Regions from separate parts of the Homo sapiens genome. Here all the other regions are linked to region 1. The links are contacts of gene promoters, found by promoter capture Hi-C in blood cells and fetal thymus (Javierre and others, 2016). All regions are on one chromosome and are shown on one strand. Each heading gives the region's core, a stretch centred on a gene start or on the middle of the fragment in contact. The rest is flanking DNA. Distances are from core to core; before and after follow the strand shown. Region 1 holds the start of SPOCK3 (SPARC (osteonectin), cwcv and kazal like domains proteoglycan 3). Region 2 overlaps SPOCK3 (SPARC (osteonectin), cwcv and kazal like domains proteoglycan 3). Region 3 overlaps SPOCK3 (SPARC (osteonectin), cwcv and kazal like domains proteoglycan 3).

Region 1 (3,366 bases), core at 463-2,962:
GTCAAAGGACCAGGGGTCAGGAAAAGGTGATAGTGGAGAATGGACCACCTACTATTGTCTTAATAAATTTACTAAACAAGAATTTAAATATGTAAACTACATGGTAATAACCCTCTGTGAACAGGCAAAAATAAATATCTTTGAAGAATTAGCACACATCTATATTCTTAAAGTTTTCTGACATTTGTTCGTGTCAATCAGGGCTCCCATGAATTGCAGTAGTATGTTCCGTGTTTTTCTCCACTAATTGCATTCATCACTGTAGAAATGGGGGGAATTGAGAAAAACATCTTTTTCTGAGTTAAAAATAGTAATAGAAATTTCTTTCCTATATAAATATTACACTTATATTTCCTACCATACATATTATACATTTATTTTGAAATATTACATTAAAAAAGGAAATTAACATTAAACATTGAGTTTGGTCGTTTTGTTAATATAGATTGCAAAATGTTAGACGAGATTGATATGGAAAATGTGTACTGCTGCTATTCGAATAGCTTCTGAAGTTTTGGAGGCTACAAGAAATGTTCAAAGGTCGTAGCTTTGGGAGATGTAGTTTTGGCTGAAATCTCTAATAATTCAAATAGAGATTCATAATGTTATTGCAGTCTATTGGCTTGCAGACATTTCTTGATTTATGTGTAATATTCACTTCACCTAAATTCTCTAAATATGAGAGATTCTCTGTATCAGATTTTCTCTACAAGGGGCTAATTACTGATTTCCTTCCAGTTTATTTAGAATATGTAGAAACGACATGGAAAGCCAAATATTTTGTCATAAATGGAAGTTTGGAATACAAAATTGGTGTTCGGGCTTCAAAACTGTCTTATTTTGCAGGAGGGAGACAGTAGGCTTTTAAAGTTTCCGATTCAGGTTCTACGTTCTAAAATAAAGCTGCCAGGGAGTTTTTATAAAGGGAAAAATGCAGCTACAGTATGTAGGAGATATAGGTGTTCTCAAACGCCCTACCTCGTTATGCTTCTGTCTCTCAAAACAAAACACACACACACACACACACACACACACACACACACAAAGGAAAAGAAAAAAAGAAACTGCAACCTTTAACATGAAAGTTTGCTGTCGGTAGTAATCCAGAAGCTCACAGCAAACTTTAAATTTTCTGAAATTAAACAGATCTCCCAAGACCTTGTGGATAGATGGCCTTTCTTTAGGGAGGAGCTGAGTTCAGGAGCTTTACAGGGTAGGAAGTCCAGGTATTCTTATTTATTAATGCATAAAGTTTTCCTCAGATCTTGTTTCTCACGTCTGCCTGACAACCCTGGAAATTGTGGAGCAGAGGCAACTGCGAGAGATAGTACACTTTGTGTTAAATCCAGGAGCAGAGAATGAGCAGGCTGTCTCGCGAACATGAGAACCTCTTCTGGAGGGGAGAGGTTACAAAGCAGATAAGGATTCCTAGGCTAGGAGCTACCTCGTCCTCTGGCTCCAGCCAAGCGTCCTATCCGGAGCCAACTGTAGCTGGGATCCAGCGAGAGGAAGGTGGGATAGGAGGAGGTGGAAGAGGAAAAAAACGGAGGTCGGGGAGGGAGGGGGAACGGAGGGGAGTAAGCTGGAGATCCGCGCGCGAAGGGAGGGTGGAGATGGGGGGAGCGCGCCGGGCGCAGGGAGCTGAGTGGACGGCTCGAGACGGCGGCGCGTGCAGCAGCTCCAGAAAGCAGCGAGTTGGCAGAGCAGGGCTGCATTTCCAGCAGGAGCTGCGAGCACAGTGCTGGCTCACAACAAGGTGATGTGCCAGGAAGCGGTTTTGTGCCCGCTCGGGCTGCTGCGGCTGGGGCTTGCTTCCTTATACCCACCTCTCCTCCTCTGGGTCTGCGTGTGTGTGAGTGCCCGGCTTTTGGGGGTAAAGCCTGCGGGGAGGGGACACGCTTGCCTCTGCTTGTCTCCTCCTCCCTCTACCCTCGTCGTTGCTAATGCATGTTTTCCAGGGTCGCTCCTGGCTTCGTACCCCTTATTTGACACTGACATGCCCCCCCACCCCCCGTTGTGTCTCCTCTCCCAGATGCTCAAGGTGTCAGCCGTACTGTGTGTGTGTGCAGCCGCTTGGTGCAGTCAGTCTCTCGCAGCTGCCGCGGCGGTGGCTGCAGCCGGGGGGCGGTCGGACGGCGGTAATTTTCTGGATGATAAACAATGGCTCACCACAATCTCTCAGTATGACAAGGAAGTCGGACAGTGGAACAAATTCCGAGACGTAAGTTCCGCGCACCCACATCCCCGGGCACACGCGCGCGCTGCTCCGAGGCGGGGGCCGCGGCCGCCGGATGTGGGTGGGGAGTGGGCTCCGTTTTCTGAGGAGAGGGGTTTAGGGAAACGCGGCGGCGCAGGGCTGCTGGAGAAGTTCACAGTTCCGCTGCCCCCTCCCAGCTGGTTCAAGGGCTTGTTTCTTGGATGCACAGGAGTTCAGGTCTCACCAGGTTCACACTCTTCCTCCCCCACCCTGCTCTCCCCTGTGCCCCCTCCCGGCCCACAAAGGTTACAAAGTGCTGGCTCTAACCTCTCAACTTTTGAATGGTGTTTCTGGCACTGGTAAACACAGCAGATGTGCCTTTGCGATGTATCGCTACTAAAGTAACTAGGATCGATCCTGTCACTAATGGTCCATTAAGGAATTTGAGGGAGGAGGTAGGAAGATGTAAGATTTATAAATGCCCGCTCTCCAAGGGTGGGAGGATGTTTGGCGGCACCAGTAAGGACTCGTTGAACGCTCCCGCTTACATAAAATTGTCGATCAGATTTGTGCTTCGACATGACTTTAATCTAGAACATCTTTGCAATGCATTTGATTATATTTTATTCCAAAATGAATCACTGCCTTGAACTCTGCGGGAAGAGGTTGCGAGGGCGGGAGGATTGCAGGTGACAGCGATAAAAGAGTTAAACCATAGACTCCCCTGGGGAGTTTTCAAAAGGGTTATTAAGAGGGAGCCAGGTTTCCACACTTGAAGCTAGTGGCCATGGCTTGCCAGTCATTTTTATTTTCCTCACCTGATCTGAATGGAGCCCAGTAAGAGCTGCTCACGTACAGAGCACGATACAACTGGAAGCCTTGAATTTGGTTGTCCCAGTGAGGAGGCCGCCCTGTTGGCTGAATACCGCCCCTAGCCCACCCTTTAAAACGCGGAAGGCCTGAACTGGAGCGAGAGTGGTTCCTAGACACATTGCCAATCCTTACCGTGACATTTGAGAGAATTTCTCGTGGAGTCCATCTGCAGTGCACTACGTGGAGATGAGTTAACTTCTTTCATCAGCTCCGACTCAGTCACCATTTAGGAAAATAAAAGGGAGCCTAGGCTAGCTTTCATCCTGCCTCCTCTAACCCATTCTCTCAGCCTCTCC
Region 2 (3,366 bases), core at 559-3,058, 190 kb after region 1:
ATTATCAGGGACAAAGAGGGACATTACATAATGATTCTCCAAAAAGATAGTCTTTAACTTGCATATGCCTAACAAGAGAACAAAATATGTGAGGCAAAACCTGAGAGAACTACAAGGAAAAATAGTTGAATTCACTATTGTACTGGAGACAACATCCCTCCACTAGAAATGCACAGATCTAACAGGCAGAAAATCAGTAAGAACATAGTTGAACTCACAGCACCATCAATGAAACAGATAAAATTGACATCTATAGACTGCTTCATCCAGCAACAGCAGAGTAAACATCCTTTTCAAGCTCACATGGAACATTCACCAATATAGGACACATGCTGTGACATAAAACACACCTGGACAAATTAAAGTAATAAAAATCATACAATAACTGCTGACTGCCCATAATGGAATTAAAGTTGAAATCAATAACAGAAAGATAACCAGAAAATTCCAAAGTATGTGTTGATTAAGCAACATACTTGTAGATATCACATGTGTCAAAGAAGAAATACCAAGAGAAATTTTAAAATATTTTGAATTAAATAAAAGTGAAAACAAATTATCAAAATTTGTTTGTGGCGTGCAGTGAAAGCAGTGCTTACAAAGAAGTTTATACCATTGAATGCATACATGAGAAAATAAGAAAGATCTAAAATCAGTCTTACAGGCTCTTAGTAAACTTGAAAAGAAATTTAAGTCTGAAGTAAGAAGGAGAAAAAAATAATAGAGTAAAAATCAATTAAATTGAAAAAAGGAAATCAATAGACAACAAAACCAGAAACTGGTTCTTTGAAAAGGTCATTAAAATTGACAAAACTCTAGCCAGGCTAAGAAAAAAGAAGGGTCACAAATTACTATTATCAGAAGTGAAAGAGACAAAATAGCTACAGATTTCATGAACATTAAAAGGATAATAAGTAAATATTATGAACAACTCTGTGCCCACAAATTTGGTAACTTAGATGAAATGGACCAATTATTTGAAAGACACAATCTGCTAAAACCTGAAAAAGAAGAAATAGTCAATTTTAGTAGACTGATATCTATTAAAGATGTTGAGTCAAAAATTAATAACCTGTCAAAACAAAAAATATGAAACTCAGTTGGATATACTGGTGAGTTCAAATCAACCTTTAAAGAAGAATAAAACAATTCTCCGCAATTTTTTAGAAGATAGAAGAATCAAAGGAAATACTTCCTAACTCATCCTAAAAGGCCACCATCATGCTAATATCAAAATCAGACAAACACATTACAAAGAAAAGAAAACAAACACTGTAGACTAGGATCTCTCATAACATGGGTGCAAAAGTCTTCAATAAAGTATTGGCAAATCCAGTCCAAAAATGTATTATAAGATTAATGCACTACAATCAAGTGAGGTTTATCTCGGGAATGCAAGGCTGGCTCAATATAATTCAAAACCAGTTATCCCAACACATTAAGAATATAGAGAAGAAAAAAAATTACATAGTAACATAAAGAGATGGAGAAAAAGCATTTAACAAAATTCAACACCTATTCATGATAAAAACTATGTATAAAGTAGGAATAGAGGTTGACTTCTGCAACCTGATAAAGAACATCTATAAAAAACCTGTAGCTACCATCATACCTAATTATGAGAAACTCTAAGCTTCAGGAATAAGAATGTTCCTTTTCACCACTGCTTTTCAACTTTATAACGAAAGTCCTAACTAATGCAATGAAACAGAAAAGGAAGCAATGATATACAGATTGAAAAGGAATAAATAAAACTGATTTTGTTCCCTGGTGTCATTGATGTAGAAAATCCTAAAACAAAACCTCCTGGAATTAATAAAGATTATAACAAGGTTGCAGAATACAGAGCTATCATACAAAAGTCAATGGCCTTCCTATACTTCAGAACAAATGGGATTTTACATTAATGCAATATCATTTACATTAGTACCCTCTAGGATGAAATACTTAGGTATAAATCTAACCAAATATAAACAAGCTTTCTATAAGAAAAGCAGAAAACACTGATGAAATAATGAGCTATCAAGCCACAGAGGAATGAAAGATGCAGACTACTAAGTGAGAGAAGCCAATGTGAAAAGTCTCCATGCTATATAATGCCACCTAAATGACATTCTGCAAAAGAGAAAACTGTAGAGACAGAAAAAGTGATGAGGTTGCTATTGAAGAGAGAACCAGTGGTGTGTGCCTCACCAAAATTCCACCATCTCTTAAAAAACAGGATAATCTGCTGCCAGTAATAAGTAAACATTAGTGAATAGCAATGATCAGGGGCACACAAATAACTACCCCTTAACCCACTTATTGGCATGACTTACTTGACCCTTAGGTATCAACCTAAAGCCCTTATAAAGCATCTGGAAGTAAACTTGGTTGATTATTCTATTTTATCTAAAAATTCTGTGAACATGTTCAGAAACACTTGATCATTTTTGAAGATGTTCTAATGAAAGCCTTTTTAACCTTAAGAGGGATTTATTGTTTTTCCTTTATAGGGGGTGGTGTAAGTATAAAACTGTCCTAAATATGAATTACTTTTCAGGTTTCTCTTTTCTTCCACACACAAATTTAAGACATATTTGGTAAATCAGAGTTTTCTGATCAGTCTACTCATGAAACTCAACTAGGTAGGACTTTAACAGACAAAAGTATGAACACCAGGCCTGTCTACTACATCATTAGCTCCATGCCTGGATCTCTGAACTTTATAGTTTCACAAACTCCACATCATATGTATTTGATCCAGACATAGTTTAAGTTAAAACAATTACATAACAATTACATAACATATCCTATTTGTTGTTTCTGTTCCTCTAATTCAGTATTCTATAAGCAGCAGTTACAGTCAGCCCTCCTTAACCATAGGTTCCACATCCAAGGATTCAACCACAGATGGATAGAAAATACCTGCATATGGGTTGAATCCCCTGATTCGAAACTCATAGATAAGGAGGCCTGACTAAAGGACTTGGGCATCTGCAAATTTTTGTGTCTTCTGGAGATCCTGGAATCAATTCTCTGCCAGTGCTAAAGGATGACTGTACATTGTGTTATCTGTTATGTTTGGATAGCTATTGCTACACTTGATATATCTAATGAAAGGATTAAATAAAATTCTAATAGGAGGGAAAATGGAATTTTGAATATACTTTTATTTCATTCAAATCTAAACATGAAATTGTTTAATGCAATGCTTATTATTGAGGAAGTTATTTTAAATCATATTTATAATTTACATTTTACCATTTTTTCATTTAATTTTTATTTGTAATTAATACATAAAATTGTATATATTTATGAAGTTCAGTGGGATGTTTTAATGCATGTATACATGGTATAATGATCAAATCAGAGTAAATACCATGT
Region 3 (3,366 bases), core at 643-3,142, 170 kb after region 1:
TTGCATTTACTATAGCAATAAATGTAGGTATTTAAAAATTTGCTGCGTTTGACTTTTTTTTTTTTTTTTTTTTTTTGGAGAGGGCATTGGATTTGAAAATAGGAGGAGGAGGAGTTTATGGCTGTTTGTAAGAAATCAGAAAAACAAAGGATTTGGTGAGCAGTAATGACAGCTTGTCCGTGGTGTTGCCCAAAGACACTGACAGACATAAACTTGACCCTTATGAGTAGCTATTAAGATTTAGCACCTCCTTTATTCCAGATACTGTGCTGGCATTTTACACATTTGATAACTAATCCCAATATCTCCCCCTCAAATAGGTAGATATTATTTTTCCAACTTTCATCACAGGACTCTGAGGATAGTCTAGGCCATCATCTTTTCTAAAGTGATGCAGCTAATAAGTGGTAGAGCCAGACTTAAAATTCTGGTTTGCCCGTCTCCAAATCCATCACTCACGTGTGCATGTCTAGCTTTCTGTTCTGCTTCAGGAGAGGCCTAAAACTGTAGCTGCCCAATTCCTCCCCATGCTTGGAATGAATCATAGTCATCATCCTCAAATAGTAAGATACATTTTTAAAAATAAAAGATATTAAATGAGTATGTTACGTTGCTCAGCTCAAGTTTTGAGACATTTAGTGGAGTAATTTAATTTGAAAGTCTAATTTTCCAAGAATTGTATCATGCTATAATTGTATTTAAAAATATTTTAAAGACAATACATAATCAGTGTTTATTAATTATCCAGTAGCATTATCCTTTCTTAATCTAATCCTAGATAATTTAGTGGAAAATCTATGTGTATAGATTGCTATAATTTGCCCTCCTCTTAATATAACCCTATCTGGACATAAATATATCAACTACAGTGATGTCATTTTTTTCTTTTTGTTTCATTTTTTAAAAAATTTGAAATTGGTGGGGTGCAATTACAGAAGGTAGTGATTAACTGTTAGTCACATTAAAAAAACTTCTGAAACTTAATTTAAAATTTTCATAAATAAATTAAAGGATTGCATTTATTTCTATGATTGAAGTCAGTGCTACATTTTCTTCCTTATACAGTGGAGACACTAAAAAAGAGGCTAGAAAGAAGATTCAAAAAAGGAAGATAAGTCATTATATAAAACTGATAATTGCACTCATATGTTTATCACAGCACTATTCAGAACCGTAAATATATTAGATTTAATCTAACTGCCCATCAACAGTTGATTGGATAAAGGAAATGAAATACTATTCAGCCATAAAAGGGAATGAAATTATGTCTTTTGCCTCAACGTGGGTGGAACTGAAGGCCATTATTTTAAGTGAAACAACTCAGAAAGAGAAAGTCAAATACCTCATGTTCTCACTTGTAAGTAGGAGCTAAATAATGTGTACACATTGACATAGAGTATGAAATAATACACGAGATACTTGGAAGGGTGGGACGGTGTGAGGGGTGAAAGCTGAGAAATTACTTAATGGGAACAATGTACGCTATTCAGGTGATGGTTACACTACAAGCTGAGACTTCACCACTATGTGATATTCATGTAGCAAAACCGCATTTATACCCCTTACATTGATACAAAGAGAAAGAATCTCTGCTGACCCCTTTTGAATTCTGTAACTTCTGTAGCTTTCCAATTAACTGACTTGAGTGGGTCTAACAGTTTAGAGCTTGGAAATGTTACAGCTTCACCATGATGTGCTACTCTCTTTTGGCAGGTTACCATAGTGACAACAGTATGTTAATTTCAACAGTGATATCTTTTTAATTTATAATAAAATATGATATTAATGAGGAATTTTATAAGGCTTTTAGAGTGGTAAAAACGGTAAATAGACATAGTCTATTTGGCCTTACTTTTAAAAATTCTTTTCAGTATACGTTGCCCTACATTTGTGCTGTACTGTCATATTTACTAAGTATATCGTAAATATATTGCATTGATTCTTTTCCATATTAAAGAATTAAACTTTAGGCAGGACTTAATTAGGTGTGCATTCTTTTCAACCTCTAGATTGCATTTTGATGAACTTCTTAGATATTCGATTAGCAAGAGAATGATTTGCATAAAGCATATTTACACTCCATGGGCCACTGCAGAATCACTTGGTATTTTCCCTGCTAAATTAATAGTTCCACTTATTGTTGTACTAGGGGACAATGAAGTTGTATAATTGGAAACTGGTAAGATACTTTATAGCTTATTAGCTTTAGGTAATTATCTGCATGTTATATTATGCACTGAATTGTAATTGAAAATATTGCATTGTAATATTTAGGAGAAGTGGCAACCAAAAATAGTTAAATTGTTATAGTAACCATTGACTTGCAATGAAAATGAACAGGTTTATTGAAAGACATTTCTGTAACTTGAAAACAGTGTGTTCCTTTTTGATAACTATTCTTTTTCTCTTGTTTCTTTTTTATTTTTATTTATTTATTTTATAATTTGCTGCTTGCCATTGCAGGAAGTAGAGGTTTGTATACAGCTTCTGTGTTTCATATTTAATTTTAGATTTTATATGAACCCTTGCGTTTTAATTACTTGTATACACTCAATTCACATTATTTTCCCCCTTAGGATGATTATTTCCGCACTTGGAGTCCAGGAAAACCCTTCGATCAGGGTAAGAATCTAACTATTTTAAAATAAAAACCTTTACATGTTCATAATCATTGTACTTTTAGAAATGATATTTACTGTCTGGTTAGGCTTGAAAATACTAAATAGAAGAGCTTACATGAATGGAAAAATTTGTGCAATAATTACTTACATTTCAGCATAATATTTTTAGAAGTAAGCTAATTAGTTATCATGATTATGTCAGGATGTCTTTTATTTTTAGATACATGTTTTAGATGACTGATTTGGGCTTCTGAACCTTACCAGGTTTATTTTTATCAGTAGATACAAGTCACTTCATCCAGTTTTCAAGTACATTCACTGGGCAATAGATTTATTTGTACAAACTTTTAAAACAAATGGCTTTTTTTGCCTCTTTTCCAATTAATAAAAGGTTTCCTTTAAGACTAGTAAATTAGTAATTAGACTCAGCTGGGGTCTTAACAAGCCCCAAAAGGAAACGTGTTATACAAAATTAGGGCTTCCCCACCTCCTTTCAAACAGTTTGCAATTCTGATTAACTTACCTTTAAAAGGAAAACAAGAAATAGGGATGAAAATGAAAATACTTCTACATGTGCAATGAGAATGGACACATCAAGCCCCAAGCAATCATAGTTACATAAATGACTAAAGAGATTTGTTTACTAAAGTTCACATTTAAAAAGTATCTTACTTTTAAAGTTTCTTTTTGTAACTTTCTGTAGTCTCTGCAAAGTAGAAAAAAAATTTCTTCTTTACATAGAGTA

Evidence for each region. Contacts are between HindIII fragments. The CHiCAGO score rates a contact against its expected background, and 5 or more counts as called.
Region 2: a contact is called between a fragment that was not itself captured here and the fragment with the promoter of SPOCK3 in region 1, in 1 of 17 cell types (monocytes). The highest score is 6.4, in monocytes.
Region 3: a fragment that was not itself captured here is called in contact with the fragment with the promoter of SPOCK3 in region 1 in 1 of 17 cell types (monocytes); the score reaches 5.0 in monocytes.

Annotation. Positions count from the first base shown.
Region 1 is chr4:167,232,840-167,236,205 of GRCh38, reverse strand. SPOCK3 (SPARC (osteonectin), cwcv and kazal like domains proteoglycan 3) reads left to right here and starts at 1,712. Exons shown (of 11, transcript NM_001040159.2): 1 at 1,712-1,756; 2 at 2,033-2,221. The coding sequence starts at 2,033. The HindIII fragment of the contact is 4,219 bases long and covers 1-3,366 here.
Region 2 is chr4:167,041,798-167,045,163 of GRCh38, reverse strand. The region is part of intron 3 of SPOCK3 (SPARC (osteonectin), cwcv and kazal like domains proteoglycan 3); the gene reads left to right. Among named protein-coding and RNA genes, the nearest start is that of SPOCK3, 190 kb to the left of the region's middle. The HindIII fragment of the contact is 345 bases long and covers 1,636-1,980 here.
Region 3 is chr4:167,061,748-167,065,113 of GRCh38, reverse strand. It overlaps SPOCK3 (SPARC (osteonectin), cwcv and kazal like domains proteoglycan 3), which reads left to right. Exons shown (of 11, transcript NM_001040159.2): 3 at 2,577-2,622. Among named protein-coding and RNA genes, the nearest start is that of SPOCK3, 170 kb to the left of the region's middle. The HindIII fragment of the contact is 4,466 bases long and covers 1-3,366 here.